Linked DNA regions of Homo sapiens: regions 1 and 3 are each linked to region 2. The links are contacts of gene promoters, found by promoter capture Hi-C in blood cells and fetal thymus (Javierre and others, 2016). All regions are on one chromosome and are shown on one strand. The core of a region is centred on a gene start or on the middle of the fragment in contact, and the rest is flanking DNA. Distances in the headings are between cores, read along the strand shown.

Region 1 (3,959 bases), core at 287-2,786, 880 kb before region 2:
TCAAGATCTCTATTTCTGTCTCCTCTTTAAGAATTGAAGGTCATGGCCCCTGTAGATGAGGCCTGTGCTCTTCAGGTTGCATTAGGCTCTAGGGCTTTATCCTGCCATCCCTTAGGCATTCCCCACTGGGCCCTGGTGAGTGCAGGAATCCAAATATGCCCCTGGGACCAGGCAGATGACAAGTGGGAGGAGACAGGCCGGCCTACCTTGTGTTGGTCTGATGGCTTCATGACTGACAGCTTGATGGCCTTAGAGCAAATTGTTTAACCTTTTTGAGCTTTCATTGTCCATCCTAGTTTTGCCACTTATTAGCTCTGTGACTTTCGGCAGATTACTTAACCTCTCTGTGCCAGTAAATGTGTTGCTACATGTAAAACTTTTAGAGTGGTGCCTCATAGTACAGGCTCAATATGTGTTAGCCATAATTATCGTCTGTAAAACAGGAATTATTATTGTCCCTAAAATGGGAATAATGCCTACTCTTTTAAGATGATTGCCCTAAAGATTAGAAAGGCATTTTTTTTGTTTGTTTTAAAGACAGTATCTTGCCCTGTTGCCCAGGCTGGAGTGCAATGGCGCAATCTCGTCTCACTGCAACCTCCACCTCCTGGGTTCAAGCGATTCTCCTGCCTCAGCCTCCTGAGTAGCTGGGATTACAGGCACCCGCCACCATGCTCGGCTAATTTTTGTACTTTTAGTAGAGATGGGGTTTCACCATGTTGGCCTGGCTGGTCTCGAACCCCTGACCTCAGGTGATCTACCTGCCTCGGCCTCCCAAAGTGCTAGGATTACAGGCATGAGCCACCATGCCTGGCCGACAGTTTTAAAAATAAGCTTTAATTTTTTTGGTCTTGTTTTATTTAGCTTTTGATAAGAGTTAGGAAATCACTAGTCCTAGAGATTGAATAGATCTTGAACTTTTTTTTTCTCCAGGGGGGAAAAAAAAAAACTACACATCTTGTAAGATTCTCCAACATAACATTTGTGTCTGGTACTTTTCCCATTCATCTTATGTTTTAGCTTTCATGCTTACATTTTGGTTATGACACACTTTTGTTAGACATCTTCCCATGCATACCTTTCTGACAGGTTTTCAACATTTTTGCAAAATTTAAGGTTTAAGCCAAATTATTATTCAGGACATGTGGCATCAGTTAATTACGAGCTTGGGCTCTGAAATTGACACGCTGGATTTTTATTCCAGTTCTGCCTCTTCCCTGCTGTGTGCTCTGGGACAAGACACTTAACCTCTCCTTAAGCTTCATTTCCTCATCTGTAAAATGGAGATGATGACATAGGGCCCCTGCGAGGATTAAATGAGATTCTGCATGTAATATGCTTAGCATAGTGCCCCGCATAGAGGAAGTGTGTGGACTCCACTATCAGGCTGATTTTCTTATGTTCCCCTTTCAGCTTTGCCTCTTAGAAAAAAATTGAAAACGTGTAAACAGAATATGTAGAGTGGTTTTTTTTTTTCGTATTAAGATGAAGTTGTTAATTAGTGGTAATGCATGTTTATCTGCTTGGCTCTTTGTTTAGCCGTATTCTTGGGTTACTTTCCACCAAAAGAGATACAAATTTCTTGATAAAAGTTTAGGTTGGGGGAATGTCTGCAAATGGCCATTTTCTGTAGGTGAATAAGTACATGTAGTTCACCTAGGGTCCATGAAAGCAGTCAAGGAGCTTTTCCATGACTGCTTTCACTAGGAGTTCAAGGACCAAGCTGAACTTGTCCATTGCCCCAGGCTAGACACAGCGGTTAGTGTTCAGTAAGTATTAGTTTAACATCTTTTCTATTCTCCAGCACTTACACTAAGCTTTGAACATAAATGGTCAGTAAACATTTTGGATTCAGTTTAACAAAGGCTTATCAATCCCCATGCCTTGGTCCTACGTTACAGGCTGGGGGTGGAGGAGGGCCAGGGCAAGAGCACAGCCCCTGATTCGAAGTAGAATTTGGTTTTCTTAAGTGTAAAGTGCTCTGGGCAGGATTTTCAAGGAGATGAGCTTAAATCTTGATGGGCAGGTAATAGAGATCAGGAATCAGTAAGAGCATCCACATAGGAGATAATATTTGAGATTAATTTCTGAACCTTAAAGGAAGAGGGCAGTGTAGTTGTGGCTTCAGCTGAAAAAAACTACAGTACAAGGAACAAGGCATTAGGATCTTACTTCAGGATTATCAAACCTTTCTATTGGTATGATGGCTGGGGGTAGGGAATTGGCTGGGAAGGTAAGACTCCTCTTACTAGCCTCAAGGAGCATGGAGGGAATGTGTATTTAGTGCTGAGTTTGGTCTAGGTTATGAAGAATGCTTTGAAGTCAAGGCTAAGGTGGACTTGACCCAGGAGTGGCCCCCCAGGCTTTGCATACTAGTCCAGGGCTGCCTGTTCCACCATTCTGTCCAATTAGACATACTCCCCAGCCTGTTCCAATAGTCTGACGAAGCGAGAGGCCAAGCCCTGCCTTAAAACTTGGACACTCCCTTGCTGTGGGCAACCAAGACTAAGGGAGAGTCTGTTTTTATTATTTATTTATTTATTTATTTATTTATTTATTTATTTATTTATGAGACAGGGTCTTGCTCTGTTGCCAGGCTGGAGTGCAGTGGCACGATCATAGTTCACCGCAGCCTCCACCTCCTGAACTCAAGTGATCCTCTCATCTCAGCCTCCTGAGTAGCTGGGACCCCAGGCGTGTGCCACCACACCGGCTAATTTTTTTATTTCTATTTTTGTAGAGAATAGTCTCGAACTTATGAGCTCAAGCGATCCCCCAGCCTCAGCCTCCCAAAATGCTGGGGTTACAGATGTAAGCCACCACACCTGGCCTGTTTTTTTTTTTTTTAATAGTAAAACATACATAAAATGAAATTTACTACCTTAATCATCTTTAAATGTATATTTCAATAGTGTTAAGTACATTCATACTGTTGAACACTTTCATCTTGCAAAACTGAAATTCTATACCCATTGAAGAGCAGCTCCCCTCTCCTTCCCCCAGCTTCTGGCAACCACCATTCTACTTTCTGTCTCTGAATTTGACTATTCCAGGTAACTCGCAAATGCAGAACCATACTGAATTTGTCTGTTTTTTGACTGGTTTATTTCACATACCGTAACATCCTCAAGGTTCACCCCTATTGTAGTATAAGTCAGAATTTTCTTCCTTTTTAAGACTGAAAAATATTCCATTGTATGTATAGACCACATTCTGTTTACCTGTTCCTCCTTTGATGGACATTTGGGTTGCAAACAATGCTGTAATGAACATTTGCATGTAAGTATCTAAGGGAGATTTTTCGTGGAGACTATTTAGGAGGGTTAAACTCATGGCTGCGAGCTACATGTTGGGGAGCTGGGCAGAAGATGGGCTCTTTAGATTATCTCTGAGTGAAGGGGTAGTGGACCTGGGTATTAGGGTACATGCTTTGGAAAGAAAGCGCCCTTAAGAGACACGAGGAGGATAAAGGTGCAGGTCTTCTCTCATTCGGCGTATTTATGGGCACCTTCTGTGTGTCAGGCACTGATGAGATTGAGGGGAAGGAGAACTGGAATTATCATGGGTGTAGGTAACTGGGAGTATTGTTGATACTATGGAATTAGTGGAAATAAAGCCAAGAGGAGGGGTGGCCTATTTGAGGGAGAGAATATGATGTTGGACTCTGCTGGGTTTATTCATTGATTATTTGTGAGCTGCATTTTCTTGAAACTCAATTTCACAGACATGGAGGGAAGACGTCAATGAAATCTTAGGGTCAGGTCCCTGTAAGAAATAAAACTAAACCCCAAAGTCACAAAACATGGCTCTATAATATTACGGTAGCATTGGGGATTATAAAGAATGGTATGTTAACTGTGAACCAGTCTTATGGTGAAAAGTAAGTTTTCATGAAAAGGAGTGTATACTAGGAAGAGAATCCTGTATTCTTCTCTGCATTAGGCCATGTTTAAGGTATG
Region 2 (4,182 bases), core at 952-3,451:
TGAGTCCATAATACACACAAAAATTTGAAAACATGAAGACATACACATAATACATCTCATTTCCCACCATTCCCTCAGACTATTTCTCCCTCTCCTCTATTGTTAGTTTTCTAAATCCTCCCATAATTTCTTTATATAAAGAGCAAACATAAACTTGTATTATTACACCTCGCCCTTAAGATGTAACACACTATTCACAAAGTACCGCTACACCTTGCTTTTTTCACTTCATAGCAAATTTTTGCAATCTTTGCATGTTAGTACGTAGAAAGCTTCCTTATTCTTTTTTCATAACTGATTACGCCTAGCTTTAGAACATTTTCAGTCTGCTTTCTTCAGGCTAACTTTTTTTTTTTTTACTTTTTTTATTATTATACTTTAAGTTCTAGGGTACATGTGCACAACGTGCAGGTTTGTCACATATGTATAAATGTGCCACGCTGGTGTGCTGCACCCATTAACTCGTCGTTTACATTAGGTATTTCTCCTAATGCTACAGGCTAACCTTTCAAGACATTCTGTTCAGCCAACCACTTATCACAGGAATTAATTTCCTTCCCCCAAGCTTTGAAAACCAATCAGATTTGAGGTGTCCCAAGGGATAAGTTTCAGAGAAAGCAATTCATTATCTAAATTACATCCTTTTAAGAATGTTTATTTTCAAACAGGTAGAGGGGAATATTGCACAATTTTCTCTAATCGCTTAAAGCTACAAATCAGAACGCAATCTTCAAAGTGAAATTACCTTTGATTTGGGGGGATCAGCGTTATAGTCAAATCAACGACTGTAAAAGTTTACTTCTTGTGCTTTTCTTCCACTGTAAAAATTTTTTTATTTTTTAAAGAAGGCTAAAAAGCCTTAAAGTCTAATAGCACGGCATTCTAATAGCAGGAAACCACAATCTGATTTGATCTTTCATCTGCCAGGTCAGAGACTAGGCTTTTATCTTGCAGAATTAGGCTCACCTACCATCAACAAGAGGACCTCTACAAAGCTACAAACACTTTCAAAGAATATAAACTCTGCGGCGCTGCGTGTAGGAAATTACACTCCAGGGGCCAGAGCGCCAGAGCCAACTCCAGAAAACCCAGCTTCACTGGCGGAAAGAAATCTACAAACGCCAGCGGCGGTGACGGGGAACGGGAAGCGCGGGTGGACGGAAGAAGAGAAACCGAGCGCCTCGCCGCCAACCCTCGAACCCGCGCGCGGTCGCTGGAGTCAGACGCTAATAGCCGCGCGCTGCCTAGGAACGGAACCCCGGAACCACCACCACTAACGGAACCAGCCCGCGGCCGGCAACGGCGGCCGTTCGGACTGCGGACTGCGGCACGCGGGCCGGGCGCCGGGAGGGCGGGGGTTCCCCGGAGGAGCTGGCCGCCCCGGCGCCCCATTGGGCGCTGCTCCAAACGTGCCCGAGTGGTGACAGGAATAAAGTGGGTCACAAGGCCTAGCGGGTCCCCAGCGAAAGCTCTCTCGGCACCCGGTCCCCGTCTTTCCCCGCCTCCCAGCTGCTGGAATCGGCCGCAGCTCCGGGCGCCCTCAAGCCGCCCGGCCCCGCCGTGCACCCCACTCCCGCCCCTGCCCCGCAGGTAACCCCAGCTGCCCCAGAGGGCCTCTCAGGCAGGGCGGGCCTCGGCCCGAAGTCCCGGGAAAAGACACACTAGAACGACACGCCAAACTTGGGCTTCAGCTCCCGCCTTCCCCACCCTTGGCCGCCGCCCCCCGGCCCCACACACGCCGCCCCCCGCTCCCTCCCCTTCCCCGCGCCCTCACCGTGTGGCTTGCGGCGGCTCCGGCTTCTTCCCTCCCCCACCCAGGTCTCCCGCTGCGGTGACTCGGAACCACTACCCCGCCTGTGTCCAGGAGGCGCCGCGGCTCCCACCTCCAGCAGCACCTGGGGCTGTGAGTGGCGCCCCCCACCCACCCCCCCAAAAATTCGCCGCTCCTGTGGCCAGCTCCTCCTCCCCCTCCCTTCCCTTCCCCTCCTCCACCAGCCCAGGAGCGCGCATGCGCCGCCAAGGAAGCCAACCGGCACTCGGCAGGCCCTGGGCCCACCGGGCGGGCGCCTCTCACCGGGAGCGCTCGCGGCGGCGGCGGCCAGATTTCCTTCGCGCTCTCGCTCTCCGGGGTTTCCTTTTTTAAACCGGCAGCCGCAAGCCGAGTCCGTGATTGCGCCCCCTCCCGGCGCATGCGTCGTCAGCGACCCCGCGGGCTCAGACGGCCGGCGGAGGCTCTGCGCTCGCCCCTCCCCTCACTCTCCCTTTCCCCAGCGCGGCTCGGTGCGCATGCGACTTGCCCCGTTAGGCAGCACGGAGCCGCGCCAGGGGATCCCGGACGCCCGAAGAGACTCCCGCGCCCCTTGGGCCGAAATCTGGCTCTGCAGGCGCACCGTTCCCTGCCCCGGCCGGGAACGGCGCCGGTTACTAGAAAGCCGGGGAGGCGGGGCCTGGTCGGGTGGAGGGCGCGGCCGGCCGGCAGAGCGCTAGCCTTAGGTCCTGGAGGCTCTTTGGCTTTCCCCCCGTATGCCGGGGGCTAGGAGGAGGAAGAAGAGCTTCCTGCCGGATGAGGGATCCAGAGGCCAGAAAAGGAACCCGCTCTCCCTTCCAAAGCAAAACACTGCCGACGCCAGCTTAGATTTTTCGGGTGTTGGCAGGAGACTTTTTCCCCCAGTGGCATCATTCGTGTTTCCTCTCCTGGTGCTGGGAGAGAAGAGTTGCAAAGGCGCCTGGACCGCCAGTAACATCTTCTCCCATCTCCTGAGGGAGCGCGGCTTGGGTTGCTTCTTCTTGGTGGGTGGGCCTGGGGAGACAGGGCATGCGCCCTCGGCCAGAGGAGGGAAGCGAAAGGAGGTCGGGATTTATTTGCTCATTTGGAGATTTTTCCCTTGCCCTTTTATTAAAAATCAAGTGACAGTGTAATGGAAGATGGAGAATGAAGCATCAGAAATAAACCAGGACCCTAATTTGCATGGATTTCCTCGTTGGAACAACGTGTGACTACTACTTATCTTCGGGAAATTACTTATCTTGATGCGTTAAGGCACATTTGGTCCACATGAGAAAGCACATTTCAGTGCTTCTACTGGAAAAGAGATCTTTACAGTCTTAATTCCTAGTAATTCCTATGTTTTAATGAATATCTTTTGGATTTGAAATAAAAGCCATCTTTTTCTTTCAAAAAATGCACTTTTCTGGCCGTAAAATCCTCCCTTTAAAGTAACAGTCACCTCAGTAAACATTTTCAATTCTTGCTGTATGCTCTGGGCAAAAGAACATCAAACTGAAGCACTTATTCAGATCCTTGATCCTGCACCTAAGGATTTTTCTTTCAGGAGTGGGAAAACATGATTTGTTAATTTACCCCATCATATAGCAGAAGATATTTTGGTCGACATTTTTGCCTGTTCAGCATTCATTCCCTATTCTGATAATTTCTTTTGAAGAACTATCATTTATCCACTCTCAGTCCATATGGTCTGAGCAGGACACAAGGGGAAGGCATATTTGAGTTTAATCCTCGGTTGCAAACTACGGTTCCTAAGAAGGGTGTTACGTCTTTACCAATGGGTTTAAATCTGGGAGAATGGAGACCTGGAGCCATCTTTCCACACGTGAATTCTGAGAAAGAAGGCAACACGGAAAAAAAGCAGATTTGAAGACAGGTTTGGCCTAAAGACATGTTTGAGGCCTGGAAACAAATGTAGATTAGATTCCTCTGGAAATTTCGTTAAACCAGTCAGTAAATTCTTGCATCTGTTTTATTGCTTAAACCAGTGAGAGGTTTTCTTTCACATGTAATCAAGAGTCCCGACTGACAAGAGGTAGGTAGCAAGACGGAGGCAAAGTTATTAATACTGATAAGGTAGGTTGCAGCCAGACAAGAGAGGGCTTGAATGCTTTCCCTAGGATGGATTTTTGAATTTTATTCTAGAGACACTGATCCCTCCTTATATTCCCCATCATCTAGAACATATTATCTTCAAAATACCTTTGCCCTTTTTAATGATTTCATTGTCCTCTCAGTCACCAAGATCAAACCATGTCCATCTTTGACTCCTCCCTCTTTCACTGTATTTAATTATTTACCAAGACCTGTTGATAATCCCCCGTTTTTCTGCTCAGTCCTCTCTCACTGCTTGAACATTTCCCATGGTTCAGTTCACAGCTTCTCCTTTCTCCCAC
Region 3 (4,386 bases), core at 1,212-3,711, 550 kb before region 2:
CTTTTGTGTCTAGCTCAGAGATTGTAAACGCACCAATCAGCACCCTGTCAAAACGGACCAATCAGCTCTCTGTAAAATGGACCAATCAGCTAATCAGCTCTCTGTAAAATGGACCAGTCAGCAGGATGTGGGTGGGGCCAGATAAGAGAATAAAAGCAGGCTGCCCCAGTCAGCAGGGACAATTTGCTCAGGTCCCCTTCCACGCTGTGGAAGCTTTGTTCTTTTGCTCTTTGCAATAAATTTTGGTGTTGCTCACTCTTTGGGTCCACACTGCCTTTATGAGCTGTAACACTCACCACGAAGGTCTGCAGCTTCACTCCTGAAGCCAGCGAGACCACGAACCCACCAGAAGGAAGAAACTCCGAACACATCCGAGCATCAGAAGGAACAAACTCTGGACACGCTGCTTTTAAGAACTGTGACACTCACCGCTAGGGTCCGCGGCTTCATTCTCGAAGTTGGTGAGGCCAAGAACCCACCAATTCTGGACACACAATGTCTAAAGATCATTAATTGTATTATTCACATGTTCTAAAGCTCTGATTATTTTTTGTGTGTTTGATCTATCATTTTTGCGAGGGAAATATTAACACTTCCAATTATAATAGTTGACTTAGTAATTCTCCCTAAACTTTTTCAAGTTGTTGCATAGTATTTCTTGAGGTTATATAGTTTACTTCATAGGTATTTATGTGGTTTATTAATGTTTACATGTTATTACTCCATATTCTTTTATCCAAGATACATCCTCTTTGTGTCTTATGACATATTTTACCTTGAATTCTGCTTTTTCAGATATTATAATACCACTCCATCTAATTTGATTCATGTTTTATCTAATATAGCTTATTACATCCTTTTATTTTCAAATTTTTGATATCCTATTTCAGTGTGTTTCTTACAGACTGCAAATTGTTATAATCTTTTTATTATTCTGAAATTCTCTCTTTATATTGATAAAATTAAACCATTTGTATTCATTATAATAATTTTAATACTATAACATTTCTGCCTTATTTTATGTTTTCAATTTATTGTATTTTTTATGATGTGTGCTTCTTTTCTCTTTTCTCGCCTTTTCTCCTTTCTTTAAAAAGTACACATTCTTTTTTTAAAATATAAATTTTTTAGGTTTATGATGTTTGACTTTAAACTAAGGCCCATTTTGTGTTTATTTCTATTAATTTCCCAATTACTCGTATATCTCAATATCCTTTGAGACATCATTAGCTTCTTTCATTTCTTATTTTTAAATGCTGCAGTGCTCCAAGACCCAGTCCTCATTCTTCTCCATCCTTACTCAGTTCCTAGGAAATCCTATTCAGTCCAATGGCTTTAAATATTAATTATATACTGATGAATTCCACATCGTTACCAGGCCTCCAAACCTGTGTATACAACTTCTTCTTCAGTATCTCTGCTTTAATGTTCACTGTGGACCTCAAATTTAACCTGCCCAAAGTAGAAGGTTCATTTACTTCAAGGTTGTATAATTGTGGTCTCCTACAGTATCTCCAAAATCCTAGGGGTTTTCTTTGGTTTCTCGTTGTCTACTACTTCACATTAAAATCTTCAACAAGACTACCATCTTTATGTTAAATTATATTCCCAATCTGCCCACTTTTGTCACCTCCACAGCTATCACCCTCGTCCATATCACTATCATCTCTCACCTGGATCATTGTAATTACCTACTAACTGTCCTCACTGTCACCTCATTTCCACTATTGCCTAACACCCCCCAACCGCCACCTCCATAATATATTTATCTCCACAAAGATCTATTTTTAACAGAGAAAATAACACTGCTCCCATACTCAGAGTCTTCTGCTGACTTCCCATCACGATTACATCCAAACTCCTTACCATAGCCTGTTAGGAAAGTGGACATATAATTTATCCATCCAAACCAGGCAGTGTTGAGACTGAAAGAGGCTCTATTAGTAAAGACACCGGGAACAATGACAACTTTACAACTTGATTCCTCCCCTACTCCCTCAGCTCCAACATGCTGCTCTGTTTAATCGTTCCCACAACAAGGTCTTTCATGAGCAAAAATTCAACAAGGATGTATCAAATGCGGAGTATGTGAGGATGCAACAGTGAACACAACAAAGTTTCTCATTTCATGGAGTTCACATTCTAAAAGCTTCTTCCATTTGGAAGACATCCTCCAGATTCTCACACAGCTTAAGCATTCATATTATCCAAATATCTGGTCAAATGTCCCTTTTTAGAAAGATATTCCCAGGATATCCTGCTGCAATAGCCTGACTAACCATCCCATCAATCTCTATCACTAACCCTGATTTATGCTTTTCATGTTTCACCTGAAATTATATTATTCCATTAATTGTTTTCTTATAGCCCGTGTACTATTAATAGTTTGTTCTTGTACTACTATAAAGAAATATGCGAGACTGGGTAATTTACAAAGAAAAGAGGTTTAATTGACTCACAGTTCTGCAGGCTGTACAGGTTGGGGAGGCCTTAGGAAACTTTCAATCATGGCGGAAGGTGAAGGAGAACCAGGCACATCTTACATGGCTGGAGTAGGAGGGAAGAGAGATAGGGGGAGATGCCACACACTTTTAAACAACCAGATCTCCTGAGAACTCACTCACTATCATGAGAACAGCAAGGGGGAAATCCACCTCCATGATCAAATCCTCTCCCACCAGGCCCTACCTCCAATATAGGGGGTTATAATTCAAATGAGATTTGGGTGGGGACACAAATCCAAACCATACCAGCCTGTCTGTCCCTTAGAATGTAAGCTTCAAGAGGACAAGGATGTGGCCTGCCTTAGTCACTGCTGTATCCCCAGCTCCTAGAACATTCCTAAACCATCAATATGTATTGAATAAATAAATAATGAATAGTTCATTGGGGACATTAAATTTATATGAAACTTTCCCTTTGGGAACATTTAACTATGTTATTCAATAATATTTAATAACAGCCAATTCCCCAGAGGTATCTACAGAGAATATCTCTATCACAATCATTTTTCTTGAAACAACTTTTTCCATGCATTCATTTCATATAAATGGCTGTTCTCTCTGCACTGAAAGTTGAACAAGACAAATAGAATTCACGTATAAATCTGAATTCTCTTAGCATCGCTGAAACCCAGACGAAAAGCACATGTGTGAAGAAGCTGGTGAGGCTTTCCCTTTCATGGGTCTTCTATGGCATATATTTATCCACCAGTCTCCTGAATGAAAGGCTGCACTTTTTAAATTCCAAACTAAGCACTTCAAAGGAAGAGCCTCCTGCTTTCCTAAATATGCTTAGTGCAAAAGATTGCATTGCAAGGGCTATCTGGGGGCATTTCTACCTGTGGCCAAAATCCAAATGTCTTGAGGTTTTTTTTTTTTTTTTCAGATTATTGTTTATATGCTTCAGATTGTTTATATGCTGCATATATGTTTATATGCAGATAAGCATATGAGAGAGAATGGGCTATAATTATTAAATAATGAAAACAATTTTTCCACACAACTTATGAATATCATCCTCATGAAGATTGGCTAATCAAATGTTTCTCCCTGCATTCTGCCAAGAATTTAATTAAAAATGGCTTTGATGGTGTGTATCCAAGGAAAACTAATTCCTGGTTTTAACTAAGGAATAAATGAATACTTAAAGCAGGTTGCTATGATGGACCAGGAGTGCACAAGTAGAGTTTTGTTTTGTTTTGTTTTGTTTTTTGTTTTTGTTTTTGTTTTTTTGAGATGGAGTTTTGCTTTTGTTGCCCAGGCTGGAGTGCAATGGCACAGTCTCGACTCACTGCAACCTCCACCTCCTGGGTTCAAGCGATTCTCTTGCCTCAGCCTTCCAAGTAGCTGAGATTACAGGCGCCCACCACCATGCCCAGCTAATGTTTTTTGTATTTTTAGTAGAGACAGGGTTTCACTATGTTGGCCAGGCTGGTCTCGAACCCCTGGCCTTAGGTAATCCACCTGCCTCGGCCTCCCAAAGTGCTGGGATTACAGGCATGAGCCACTGCACCCAGCCACAAGTAGGATTTTGACACATTGAACTGGTTTGCATGCCAAATCTAGTCAATGGCTTAAATAAGTTGTTGAGAAAGATGTTTCTTTGGTGCAAAGAATACAGAATAAGAAAAGTGAAAATATTTGATTCAACAAACTTTTTGAGAGTTACCTATCAAATACTCCATGGAAAGCAATACTGCTCAGACCACTACAGTCGCCTTGCATTAAGCATCTCATGATCTCCATTTCAATCATAATACTTCTTCAGATGAATTTTATTCATGTATTTCATTCCACTCTTACCTGATTCCCTATAGTGTCTTTGTATTATTGCCTTGGACTGCAGCTATGCTTTGGTGGCAAGAATGTAGCCTGTGTTCAAGAT

What was found. Contacts are between HindIII fragments. The CHiCAGO score rates a contact against its expected background, and 5 or more counts as called.
Region 1: a fragment that was not itself captured here is called in contact with the fragment with the promoter of CLOCK in region 2 in 2 of 17 cell types (M2 macrophages and M0 macrophages); the score reaches 6.6 in M2 macrophages.
Region 3: a contact is called between a fragment that was not itself captured here and the fragment with the promoter of CLOCK in region 2, in 1 of 17 cell types (endothelial precursors). The highest score is 12.2, in endothelial precursors.

What each region holds. Positions count from the first base shown.
Region 1 is chr4:54,662,057-54,666,015 of GRCh38, forward strand. The region is part of intron 1 of KIT (KIT proto-oncogene, receptor tyrosine kinase); the gene reads left to right. Among named protein-coding and RNA genes, the nearest start is that of KIT, 6.1 kb to the left of the region's middle. The HindIII fragment of the contact is 558 bases long and covers 1,258-1,815 here.
Region 2 is chr4:55,544,708-55,548,889 of GRCh38, forward strand. It overlaps CLOCK (clock circadian regulator), which reads right to left and starts at 2,202. Exons shown (of 23, transcript NM_004898.4): 1 at 2,075-2,202. It overlaps LOC124900704 (a long non-coding RNA gene), which reads left to right and starts at 1,158. Exons shown (of 2, transcript XR_007058122.1): 1 at 1,158-1,903; 2 at 2,909-3,182. RefSeq lists silencers at 1,198-1,827, 1,948-2,047, 2,108-2,477. The HindIII fragment of the contact is 4,589 bases long and covers 564-4,182 here.
Region 3 is chr4:54,994,168-54,998,553 of GRCh38, forward strand. No RefSeq gene overlaps it. Among named protein-coding and RNA genes, the nearest start is that of KDR, 130 kb to the right of the region's middle. The HindIII fragment of the contact is 628 bases long and covers 2,148-2,775 here.